2 separate regions of the Homo sapiens genome follow, and region 2 is linked to region 1. The links are contacts of gene promoters, found by promoter capture Hi-C in blood cells and fetal thymus (Javierre and others, 2016). All regions are on one chromosome and are shown on one strand. The core of a region is centred on a gene start or on the middle of the fragment in contact, and the rest is flanking DNA. Distances in the headings are between cores, read along the strand shown. Region 1 holds the start of FBN2 (fibrillin 2). Region 2 overlaps PRRC1 (proline rich coiled-coil 1).

What was found. The method cuts DNA at HindIII sites, captures the fragments that hold promoters and counts their contacts. A CHiCAGO score of 5 or more calls a contact.
Region 2: a fragment that was not itself captured here is called in contact with the fragment with the promoter of FBN2 in region 1 in 1 of 17 cell types (monocytes); the score reaches 5.1 in monocytes.

The regions. Positions count from the first base shown.
Region 1 is chr5:128,534,639-128,541,031 of GRCh38, forward strand. It overlaps FBN2 (fibrillin 2), which reads right to left and starts at 3,607. Exons shown (of 65, transcript NM_001999.4): 1 at 2,712-3,607; 2 at 1,764-1,846. The coding sequence starts at 2,965. RefSeq lists enhancers at 1,277-2,207, 3,933-4,433. The HindIII fragment of the contact is 14,548 bases long and covers 1-6,393 here.
Region 2 is chr5:127,528,897-127,535,725 of GRCh38, forward strand. PRRC1 (proline rich coiled-coil 1) reads left to right here. Exons shown (of 9, transcript NM_130809.5): 5 at 1,398-1,500; 6 at 4,727-4,890. Among named protein-coding and RNA genes, the nearest start is that of PRRC1, 15 kb to the left of the region's middle. The HindIII fragment of the contact is 924 bases long and covers 4,293-5,216 here.

The DNA of each region.
Region 1 (6,393 bases), core at 2,357-4,856:
TCAAGTCTCAGAAATGCAGATTACAATAGTCACTGTTACCCTGAGATTTTCAAAGCTGATTTTCTACCAGTGATCAGTGGGGCCATACATATATTTCTACTGCAAATATTCTGGAAGGCTCTGCTCTCTGGAATTCCCATTCCACACTGATCCAATAAAATCTGACTTTACAGATTTTCAACACGTACCATGAACCAATCCCTCCTCCTCGGCTGCTCTCCAACTCAATAATGGCAGTCACATTCATTACATTTAGTGAGTCAGACTTTCCGCCGTGCCTAAGTCACTCCCAGCTAGTATGGCAGGTGTGTGATGAGTGACGTTAGCTGTTTCAGGAGTCTAAAAAACCGTGTAAGTTTAAAGCAGCCATGGTAATGCCCTACTGGCCTGAAAGAGTAAACCCACCCTCCATTAATGCCTCACATATGACTTCTGTGTTGGAGAGAAAAGAATGCAGAACATGTTCTTTTAAAAAATAAAGCAAAGGCTTATTATAATCAGAGGATTTGTTCAAAATATTTATAAGTCACTTTAAATAACACAGTTGTTTCCTATTTTTGCCATTGGAAATAGTGGGATGTTAAGGTAGAAAAAATAAGAAGAAATTAGTCTTTATGACACTGGAGATTTCATCTCTTTTTTAAAAACTGCCCAGAAATAACATTAAGCATCTATCTCAAAACCACAAAACCAATAAATACAGAGTTAGAAATGCCACTACATCCTTATTATCCCTTGGTTAGTGTGCCTTGCCCTTTTTCTCTGTTCACAGTTGCATAATTATTTTCTCCCTGGAGAACATGGAGGTCAATCTAAAGTCAAGACTGGCTCTAAATGAATGTGCTGTCTATGATACCTGGCTCTCCTTCCAACAAGACAAATGTGGTTGTGCTACATAAACACACAGGAGAAGGCCAGTCACACTGCAAGTCACAAATTTACAGGCATATGAAATAAGACATCCCAGAGTCCGTGACTGTGAGGCTGATAACTAATGAGCTCTCCAATTAGAACTTGGAGAACTGGTTATACACTTTGGAAACAGAATAAAATAATCAAAACTTTTAAGGTCAGAGATACAGAATTTTTCAAGGTCTAAGATTCATACTTTGGAAATCTACTGCACACTATTGAGGTTCAGGGTCTGGAAACCCTAAATTTAAACGTCTTCCAAAAAGCAAAAAAAAAAAAAAACTCAAGCCCCTTTGTAAGAGTTCTGTCTTTTAAAAGTTTGTTAACTTAGGTCAACACTAAATCCGCGAGAATGCTCCTTTCGTATCTAGGTTATGTGGTTGTTGATATAAAACCAGAAATAAGAAAGTGGTTTTATATAAATGCCTAAGAAATCTTGATCTTCATAAGGCCCAAACCTCAAGCAGAGTTAAAAGCCTGATAATTTGCATAATAACATGTGGTCTCATCTGGATTTTTTACAGAAAAAGTGGTTTTGAGTTATCTAGATAATTGCTCTACTCCTCCCCTCTTCCAATTTGTATTAATAGACATAGAAAGATAAAACTTTCAATTATCTTTGAAATCTTTATCATTATTGCCCTTCAACAGAGTCTAGAAGTGAAGTCTGAACTGACTCAAACCGGTTGAGTCTTCCCCACTATTCAAATGGGGCCGCGTCCCGATTATCAGTGCAATGTGATCACTTGATTTTAAACGCAACTATGCGTCCAAATGGCTGAGTGCAAGAGGTCGGCCGGAGATAGGGCCGAGTGCGCTGCCCCAAGCTGCGATCCCTGCCAAGCACTCACGGACAATGCACTGGTTTCCTCCAGGGAGCGTCTTCCATCCAGGGCAGCAGTAGGAGTGGAATCTGGAGCCGCACACGTTGGGCCTGTGATGGACAAGCGCGGTCACGTAACAGATAGGTAGAGGGATGCAGCAACATATAAACGGTCTTCGTAAGCAATGCCCCGAGCGAGTAGATTTCAGGACAACAAACAAATCAAAATTACACTTCAAATTATTGGAGATCGGGAGGCAGACGTGGAAGCAAAAGAGCTAGATGCTGGAATGCAGGAGGGTCAGAAATGTCTAAACACTGCCTTTCATCTGTCGTCCCTTGCCTGCCTTTTTAAAGGGCGAAAAGAGGCATGGAAACATATAATTTGCTACTATTCTAGCTTCCAGATGCAGAGAACAAAGGGACCATTCCGTTCCAAAGAATCCTTGCCCTCCTTCCCAAATCCATTCCTCCTTGGTCAACTGTTACTTTGGCCCCGACGTGTCAAGGAAAGCGCGTCGCAAGGTGGAGCGCTCGGGTTGACGATGAGAAGGTGAGCTGTGAACCCTGCACACGTCCTCAAACAAAAGGCTCACGAGCGGCGGCCCCGACGTGGGGAGCAAGCAGGCTTCTCTGGCCCCTGCAGCAGGCGGACCCAGGCCCGCCTGCCGCCGGACATTCAGAACCTGTTCCCGCAGCGCGAGCTCTGCACACGCTCTGCGATCGGCACCCCTGGACCCCCTAACCACCCGCCGCCCAACCCCCGGAGAGAGGGCTTTCCGCCCGCTGAGCTGCGGGGTTGGGAAGGAAAAGGGGGACGCGCTCCTGGGGGTCTTTGGATATTCTGGCAAAGGGGGCTGCAGCTCTAGGCTCCAGCTAAAGGGTCTGGGACGGAGTGGGCCAGAAAGCCGCCAAACTGAGGATTCCCCCCTCCCCCAAGCCGGAGCCCTAGGTGCGGAGCCGCTTGCCCACTTACCCTCGGAGCACGTCCTGCTGTCCTCGCCGGCGGACGCGGCTGGCCACTGCGGCACCCTCCTCGCGATACTCGGGCGCTAGAAACCCGCCTTCAGAGCCTGCTGTAGCGGACCGAACCTGTTGCGGCGGCGGCTGGGGCCGGGGCGGCTTGGGCGGAGGAGGCTGAGGCTGGCCGGCCGTGCCCTGCGCCCAGAGCACCACACAGCCCAGCCACAGGAAGTAGAGCTGGAGACACAGCCTCCGTCTTCTCCCCATCGCCGGCGCCGAAAGCGCGCGGCCGTAGACCCGCGGAGAGGGAGTGATCAAAGACAAAATCTGCGCGCCTCAGAAAAGAGTCAGGGTCTAATAAGCCCTTCGTCGGCTCCGGGGACTCCCTCGGGCTCGGGCTCCCTGCTCTAGCTGGAGACCTCGACAGAGCGCCGGCCCCCTGACTGCCCGCGAAGCGAGACGCGGGGCGCCGGGTCTAGCGCAGTGAGCGGCGAGGCGCGGCGGAGGTGCAGCCGGCAGCCCCGAGCGGTACACGTTGCATAACCGGCCTAAAGCCCCGAGCGACTCCAGGACCGTCAGCGGGCGGGGGAGGAAATTACAAAAGCCCTGGCGTAAAATTTCAAAAAATGTGAACCTCAAAAGAAAAAAGGGCCTGCACGCAGAGCTCGGCGGATTCCCGTGCGCTCCGAAGACGGATATTGGAAAGCTGCAAAAGTCACCAGAAAGAAACAGGCAAGCAAACAAAAGTCGCCCCCAGAAGAAGAGGAGGGTTCCCTCCGGGCTCGCTCGGAGTCCCACAGGGCAACGAAGCGCGGGTAGCGGCTGCGGAGCCGGGCGGAGGTGCGCGGGGCCGGGGCGTGCGGCCAGCAAGAGAGAGGGCGGGAGGCTGGGCGCTGGAGAAGATGCGGCGGTGGAGGGCGCGGCGCGGGGGTTTTAGAGGCCCGGCGGGGCGCGGGGCGGGCCGGCGGGCGGCGGCTGTCAGTGGGGGCGCGGCCGTCCACACGTGGGGCTCAACCCGGACTGAGAGGCCGGCGCAGAGTGGGCGGGGACAGAGTAAGGGAGAGATCGGGACTGAGGAACGAGGGGAACCAGGGTTGGGTGAGGGGAAGAGGAAGGAAGGGGGGGAGGGCGAAGGGAGGGAAGAGGACGGAGATTGGGGAGAAGGGGGGCGAACCCGAGAGGAAGGCCGGGCTGGAAGAGGGACTTGGAAAGAGGGATTGGCGAGCCCGGGTGCGAGAGGAAATGAGCGGGGGATGGGGGCGAAGTTAGGGCAAAGAGAGAAGTGGGAAAGGAGAGGGAGGGCCAAGGTCCGGGCGCCGAGAGGAGGGGCCCGGGGGGCCGGCTGGAGGGGGCGAGGCGCTAGGCGGCTTTGCTTCCCGTCCCCGTCAATTGGCCGCTAGCTCTGTTTTGACTGCCTGTACAAAGCGAGTAGACGGCGGGGGATGGGGCGATTAGGGACCGGATTTGGGAAAGGAGGCAGCAGCCCCTTCCCCTCCCCCTCCGTCCTCGCCCGGCCGCGGACCAGGGACTAGGGTGCCTAAGCGCGCCAGGCTTGGCCGGACCCGCAGCTGAACTGACCCGCAGCTGAACTTCCCCGCCGGACAGAGGCCGCAAGGTTGAGGATGAGAACGGGTCTTTCTGTAGGGTCCCGGCCCCTGACCTGGGATGGGGGGATTCGCAGTCAGCCAGGAATAGAGGCTCACGGGGCTGTTGGTTGCAGCCTCAATCCAAGAAGGAGGAGACCTCCCCTTTGCCCTCCTACCCCCACCGCCCCACCGGGAGCGGCGTCAGTCTGCGGGACCAAATTAGGGGCTGGGAGTTTCCAGATTGAAATGCGCCCTCCACCACCAAGAGGGAGCTCACGCGGCCGCGGGGGGCCGAGGCAGCCAGCCGGCGCCGCGGTCCTGGGGAGTCCGTGCAGGGGTGTGCTCTGGTGTGAAACCTGGCAGGACTCTGCCTGGGCTTGCATGCAGGGAGGGGTTAGAGACTCTGAAATGTACTAGCGGGCAGGGTGGTGACAAGGCGGGTAAATGAGGCTCGGGGCATGCCCTTGCTTCCTGGCTTGGACCCCTTCTGATTGATTAAATCCTAGCAATTGGTGCAACCCTCTGTACCTCTTAGAGTGCCTCTCACCGGCCTGCTCTGGGTTCTTCCTTTGTGGCCCTCCTTTCATGAAATCTCTGTGAAGTCCTGGTCATTTCTCATTTAGTGGAATATCACAATTTAAAAATCAAACACTCCTGAAAACAAGGAGAGACCATCCAAGCACAGTTTGCGAAACAGTACAAAAGAGCAGTGTCTGGTTTATTCAAGCCTAGAAAACCTTAGTTTAAAGGGGAAAATGTTGAATATGTATAGGAGGGTGTGTGTGTGTGTGTGTGTGTATATATATACACGTACATATATACATATATACACATAACATATATATGATATATATCATATATCATATATATCATATATCATATATATGATATCATATATATGATAGATCATATATGATATATCATATATATGATAGATCATATATATCATATATATGATATATGATATATGATATATATGATAGATCATATATGATCTATCATATATATCATATATCATATATATCATATATATCATATATATCATATATATCATATATATCATATATCATATATATCATATATATCGTATATATCATATATCGTATATATCATATATATCATATATCATATATATCGTATATATCATATATCATATATATCATATATCATATATATATCATATATCATATATATGTATTTCTGGCCCAAATTGCCCAGATGTGCTATTTGACAGCCAAAATTCTCCAGTAATTGGCACAACTCCCTCCTTTATTTCTCCATGTAGTCAAAGGGTCTGAAGGTAGTACCCCTTGTTACAGTATTCTCATAAAGCAGAAGAAAAGATAAGAGTTACATAATTTCATGTGAGACACCGATTTGTTAAAATCCAGAGAAAGAGCAATACAGTTATTTTCACGTACTTCGCTTCAAATAATAAAATTATTTAAACTAAAAGAGCTAACTAATGTAACTATCTCCTGGTTTAAAGCAGTGTTTTAGTCATACCATTTAAAACATCCTGTATCTGCTTTTTTTGTTGTTGTTGCTGTTGTTTAATACTTACGTGGCTTCATGGTTCATTCCTGTCCATCACATTAAATCTAAATGCTCTAGAATTGCCTATGCCTTTACCCTTTGATCCAGCAATTCCACTTTTAGGAACCTATATAAAAGATACATAGACAAAAAAAAATGAAATGGTGCATACATTTGACTGTTCTTTGCAGCACTGTTTATAATAGTGAAAGACTAGAAACACAAACTTCCCATGAACAAGCAACTGTTGTGTATGACTTCATCTATTCAGTGAAGTATTATGCAGCTGTCAAATATGAATGAAGAGAAACTCTGTATGCTCTTAGAGAGTGATCTCTAGCATATACAGTCTACTAAAATAAAAAAAAAGCAAGGTACAGATAGACTAGGCAGTTCATTGAGACAAAGTAGAATAAAGGTTACCAGGAGCTCCAGGAAAATGGGAAGGATGAGTTATTGTTTAGTGAGTACAAAGTGGTCTGCCTAGGATGATGAAAAAGTTAGAAATGGATAATGGTGACGGTGGTCCAACATTGTGCATGTACTTAATGCTACTGAATTGCACGCTTAAAA
Region 2 (6,829 bases), core at 3,505-6,004, 1.0 Mb before region 1:
GGCCTCTGTATTCTAGTCCACTGCTGTTTCCCTGTTCTTGTAGTAGAGCACACTGTTTTAATTACTTTTACTTTGTGTTCATTGTACTAACGTGTACTGAGGTGGGGATGTGGAACATTCAGTGATAAGTAAGATAGGACAGTTCAAGTCTGCATTTATAAATGTATATCAGTATTTAGTTGTGTAAGTTGTATAAGCTGGCTGATTTTTCTTTTAAATTTTTCTTTACTCATCTTTCCCAATTTTTTTTGCAATGAATTTTGAAATCATTCTGCCAAGTTCCAATATTCTGCTAAGGGTTTGTTTGCAATTTTATTATTATAATTATAATTTATTATTATATTAAAGATTTAAAATTGGTAGATGATTGGCTGATTTGTAGTATTTGAGCTTCATGTTTCAGGAATGTGGCATTTTTCTAAGCTTGTTTATTTTTTAATACCCCTCTGTACTTTTTTAAAAAGTTTTTTTTTGCATACAGACTACAACATTTTGTCCCTCGTTAAGAGCATGTGTCAGTGTGTTTGTCATGAGTTGTAATACCCAGTTCAACTCTATAGGTCTTGTAAATAGTAAGTCATGATGTTTCAGCATATGGTTGGTTGGCAGTCTTAAATTTCAATTTTATGAACTCATCTTTTCCTGAGTCACCTTAGTTTAATGGCAGATTGGAAGATGGGGAATCATGGCAGGTTAGTCAGATGCCATCTCAGGAGGCACTGCTCCCTGGAGTGTCTTTTACCCTTTGTGAAGTATCGCACAAGAAGGAATACTCAAGACTTGGTTCCTTTTAGTAGTAACGGCTCTAAGAATCCAGAGGAATAGATCTGAATATAAATGGCGAGTTTGGGAATGTACAAAACAAGAAACAAGAAGTAGGAAAAAGAAGAAACTAGTAGAAGATAGCAAAATGTTGTACGTTAAGGTAATAAGTAACTGTTCTGCCCCCAGACGAGAGGTGTTTTTACTCTTTTTATTTTTTTTATTAGGGAACAAGTATGGACTTACGTAGACACCTGATTGGGACCTTTATTTGGGACCCTAAGGGACAAGTTTTGCCCAATCTTTTATATAAATAAGTAGAAGTGAAATTATATATATGTATATACACACACATATATATGTATATATAGTATAGCATCCTTTCCATACCCATGCTACTCAAAGCGTGATCTGTAGATTGCTGCTGGTCTACACACTGCTGAGTCAGGAAAAAAAATTGAGAGTATCATTTAGAAACTTAATAGCAATTTGATATTGTCATGACCTTATATATCTTACAAAAGTACTGGTTTAGGATGCATTGGAAACTTTTAAAAAAGTTTTCTTCACAATCATGAAGATCATGGTGTTCCTCACTTAGAGTGAATACTTACATATTGATTTGTTTTATGCAGGGTGTGGCTGGGAATCCTATGGTGAAGTCTGTGCTTGATAAGACAAAACATTCAGTAGAAAGCATGATTACAACGCTGGACCCTGGCATGGCTCCCTATATCAGTATGTACATAAGTTAGACCGGTATCTGCCATTTTTTTTTTAAGGGTATGTCCACATCAGCCACTAATTGTAATTCTCTGTTCGTTTCCACTGATTGTGTAATCAGTGGAAATTCTTATTATATTCTTGCATTAATTTAATTGTCAGTCTTATTTTTTGGTGTTACTAATTCATCTTTTTTAAAAGTCATTAAATAAATTTTGAAAATCCCACAGAATGATCCTAGAAGGAGTAAAAACCATGAATTATTGGTATACTTGCTGATTTTAATTTTAAATATAGGTTAGCATTGCTTTATATGAATTTTACTTTATTCACTACTGACATTTGAAGTGATGTTTGTTTCATACTTTTTTTTTTTTTTACATTTCTCCTGTTATCTATTTTAATTAAATGTTTGTGTGTAATTGAGGGATAATATTTTTGGAGGAAGCAAATCTAGTTAATAATATCTAATGACTGGGTATATTGGGAAAGCTATTTTTAACCACCTCTGAACACTAATCATCCAGAATCATCCAGACAGTTGATAGATACTGTCTGCTATTTAATTTTTATGTACATATCCAATATGTGAAAAAATATCACAAGGCTTAGTGACCAATTATTAGTAATTCTGTAAAAGATAACTTTTAAGTCAAAATTGTGCAGCAGGTACCTGAACAGCGATTTCAGTGGCAATAAAAAGCCAATAGCTTTCACAAGTCTTGACTATGTTGGTAGTTTACTGTCTAGTAAATATCAAAAGATAAGGCCTAGCAATTGTTAAGTGTCTTTATTGAATGCTTCTGCCAGGCACTTTCTCATAAGAGCTCTGCAAGGTAGGTATTTTCCTCAAGTTTTGGACGAGGAATCTAGGTTTGGAGGGATGTAAGTTATCACCCTAGATCACACAACTTGGTGGAGCTGTATTGAACTCATGCTCAATTTTTTTACACTTAGCCACTTTGCTTCCCTTGTAGTAGAAAATTGAATCAAGCATTAAATCAACTGAGTTGTTCTTTGTGTTTGTAACTGTCCAAAGAATTCAAAATTGGAGTCCACCATATATGTTCTTTTCTTTGCAAGTACATATTTTGAATGAAGGAAAAAAAGGAATTAATATTTTTGGAGCTTTTGCTGTTTTAATGGCTGTACTATGTTAGACTATGAAAGCAATTACCTTATTTAATCCTTAGAGCAAACCCTATGAGGTGCCAGGTGTTTTTATTCTTCTTCTTCTTTTTTTTTTTTTTTTTTTTTTTGAGACAGAGTCTCACTCTGTCACTCAGACTGGAGTGCAGTGGCGTGATCTCAGCTCACTACAACCTCTGCCTCCTGGGTTCAAGTTATTCTTATGTCTCAGTCTTCTGAGTAGCTGGGACTACAGCCGTGTGCCACCACGCCCAGCTAATTTTTGGTAGAGACGGGGTTTCTCCATGTTGGCCAGGCTGGATAGCAGGCATTTTTCTACAAAGAAACAAGCTCAGTGACTTCCACAAGGTAAAGAAGCTAGTAAATGATAAAGGTAGAGCCATCAAGAAAAATGTGTAACACCGAAGGGGAAAAAAGAAAGGTACAGAAATGAAATTTCTATTATTAGCAAATGTCATAACTTTATCAGCTTTAAAAAGTAATAAAATCGAATTTAAGAAAGCTGACATCTTTACTGACAGCAAAGCATCACCATTCTGATCTAACAAAACAACTCAAAGTAAATCTTAAGGTTTTTTTTTTTGTTGTTTTTTTTTTGAGGTGGAGTCTCACTCTACCGCCAGGCTGGAGTGCAGTGGTGCAATCTCAGCTCACTGCAACCTCTGCCTCCTGAGTTCAAGCGATTCTCCTACCTCAGCCTCCTGAGTAGCTGGACCTACAGGTGCACGCCACCATGCCCAGCTAATTTTTGTATTTTTAGTAGAGATGGGGTTTCACCATGTTGGCCAGGATGATCTCGATCTCTTGACTTTTTGATCCTCCCGCCTAGGCCTCCCAAAGTGCTGGGATTACAGGCGTGAACCACCGCGCCCGGCCATCTTAAGGTATTTTTACACAAATATTCTAGAAATCATTTGATGTAACAATTTCGTATGTGTCAAGAAACTCAAAAAGTATTAGAAATGGCAGGACTACTCATCACAAGCTGAAAAGCCATTTTGAGCTGAAGCTTAATGGAGCAGTACTTAGCTAAGGTCGAGAGATGTGTCCCATGTGGAGGAAAAAAGTGAAAAAAAAAGTATATTCTTCTTCTCTTTTATGTCCTAGTAACTTCTGAAGTATCCAGTACAGATGTGATCTGTGAGACATTATGTCAGTCAGGAAAAAGGGATCCATTATTTTTAAAACCCAAATATTTGAAAATATCTTTCCCTGTTCCACATGATATTTATTAGGGAAAAACAACCTTGTTTCTAGGGCAAAATGTTTTACATTATAAACAATTTTCATGAAAAATCTCTTTTGCCGGTGATAACTATTAATGCCAAATATCAAAATGTGCTGTGTTTAGAACAAGGGCTTTGAATTCATTATATCACAGAAATGTTTGGTTAAGATTTTTAAAAATAATGAAACATTTGGTCAAATTGATCTGTCTAGAAATAGTAGTACTTAGGTTGTTTAAGTAATTGAAAAATTAAAAATATTTGAAAATATTTTTATTTCGTATTACTCTTAATATTTTAAATTTTAAGTTTTATGTGTTATTTCAATTTCATATATGCTTGCATATTTATATTAGGGCAGTAGTACATGTATAATTGATAAATATCTATTTGTGGTGTATGCTCAGAACATTGTGGGGATATTTAATAAAAAGCTTGATGACCCCATATTTAAACTATTTTCTAGGTTAAAAAGTATATTTCATGGTAGTGCTTGTTTAGTACATAACTTCTCTGCAACTCATTGACAAATCACTTACTATCAGTAAGTCTTTATTTTAATTTTCCGTGGAGTATACTAAATATGTAACTTACACTTCACAAGCCAGATATGTGATTTCTGGCTTGTGATATGTAATGTCAGTTTTGAGTCCTGACATTAGTGCTAAGTAGATACGTTACCTTGGGCAAAACTTTGTTGGCCTCAGTTTTCTCAAGCATATAAAAAAGATAATGATCTATATCTTGCATGGTTTTATGAAACTGGTAATAATTATGTATATTAGATGTTAGCACCTGGTATGGTAGTAATTATGAGAATTTCATTATTTTAATTTGAAAGTTAAATTTTCCTCTGGTCTTTTTAGAATCTGGAGGTGAACTGGATATTGTAGTGACCTCAAATAAAGAAGTAAAAGTTGCTGCTGTCCGAGATGCCTTCCAGGAGGTCTTTGGCTTAGCTGTGGTTGTAGGGGAAGCTGGACAGTCCAATATTGCCCCACAACCAGTGGGCTATGCAGCTGGATTAAAAGTGAGTAACAGAACACCATTTTCAGGACATGGAAACTGGCATTTAATTTTTTCACAATTCTGATAATCTGTTGTCTCTATGGAGCTAATAGACTTTTACATACTGAAATAACAATGAACTTTGCTTTTAGTAGACAGCCCTATCGTATTATGAAGATATAGTGGAGTTTTAATTTAAAGAAATTTAAGATAGGTTTTGATTATTGTGGGAGGGAAAGAAACATTGAGAGAGCACAAAAGGAATAGTTAGTCCTAAAAGAGATCTTCTTAATCCAGCATTAACATTCAAATCAATTACTGAGATGATAATATCCCTTGAATCCCATAAGCTTTTATTATCCCTATTGATAATGCTTAAAAATATGTAAGTTCCAGGAATTCCGTCCTCTCTTTCATACTTTATTTTCCTCTCTTTGTGTTATTACCAGCATACAGTCATGCAAGAACAAATTAACAGTTCATTGGCATACAAACATCTTTCTCACCTTGAAAAAAAAAGAAAAAACCAAAGGAAACCCCAACAAATTCTTTGACCTCCCTTCCTCTATAACTTAATGACCTATTTTGCTTCCTTTTGCAGCTAAACTCCAAGGAGTTGGCAGCACTTTTCTCATATCCTTTTCACATTCAGTTAAGTCTACCTCAGTTAGGCTTTGATGTCCAGCACTCTACTGATAGTGCTTTCAGGCTCGTGCTAATGTTCTCCATCTTATTGGACTTACCAGAGGCTTTTGAGACAGTTGATCATGCACTTCTCTTTAATGCTTTTTTCACTTGATTTCTAGGATTCCACACTTTAGTTTTTCCCTCCTTCATGTATTGCTCACTCCTTCTGTACTTCCTTTGCTGATTCCTCCTCTTCTCTCCAGTCTTCTGACGGTCACCTTCTCATCAATTCACTCTCAGACTATCCCATGGCTTTAAATACTGTCTCTGTGCTAACAGTTCCAAATTTATATCTCCACCTGAGACCTTCCTGTAGACTCTTGATTTATATATAAGTTGCCTTTTTGACAAGTTTACTTGAATATCTCAAACTTAATATGTCTAGAACTAAACTTCTTTCCTCCACACTTGCTCCCTCTAGCCTTCTTCACCTTAATTGATGGCAGTTCTAGCCTTCCGTTTTCTCAGGCAAGAAACCTTGGAGTCAGCCCTGACTTCTCTCATTACCCACTTCTAATCCATCAAGAAATCTTATTTGTAAGACAGACAGTTCTTGTTTTTCAACATAATTGTGTTCCATAAAGTTGCTACAGACTGAATTTGTGAATACTGAGCCATTGCTCCCAGGGGAGATACGATGGTTAGGATACTGTGGGCCTCTGGTCACATTTTGCCAACCTGTCAATACATAACTTTGTTTTATGCCTCTTTCTGTTTAAATACATTTTTATACACATACATGCACATATTTTTGATTCATTAATATTGAACTCTCACAGTCAACAGTACTGTAACTCATGCTTGAATGCAGCTTATTTAACACACTCGTTTTCTCATTAAGGCACATCATTGTCTTCTTGTGCTTAGGAACACTACAGCACTCCAGCACTACACTTGGGGGCCATTTGAAAACAGCAGTTAACATCAACAAACACAAAGATGCAAAAAAGAGGTGCTAAATAGATCCCAAAAAGGATACCTGTTTACATTGTGTCAGCTGAAAGAAGAAGTCAGGGCACTGCCTTGTTCAGCCTCAGCTAGGAGTGTATGCATCAGGCAACTCAAATTTCTCATAGCTCTGTGCATGTCCGATTTTGAGATTATAAATAAATTTCATGTGTAGTCAATGGAATCCACAAAACTAATAGGATCGATCAACTGTATTTATGTTTAAGGAGAAACACATTTTCATATATGACATTCTGTTGTTTTATTTGAAGGAGCTTATAATAGCCTGCATTTTTTGAGAACATCCCCTGAGCCAGGCACATAGA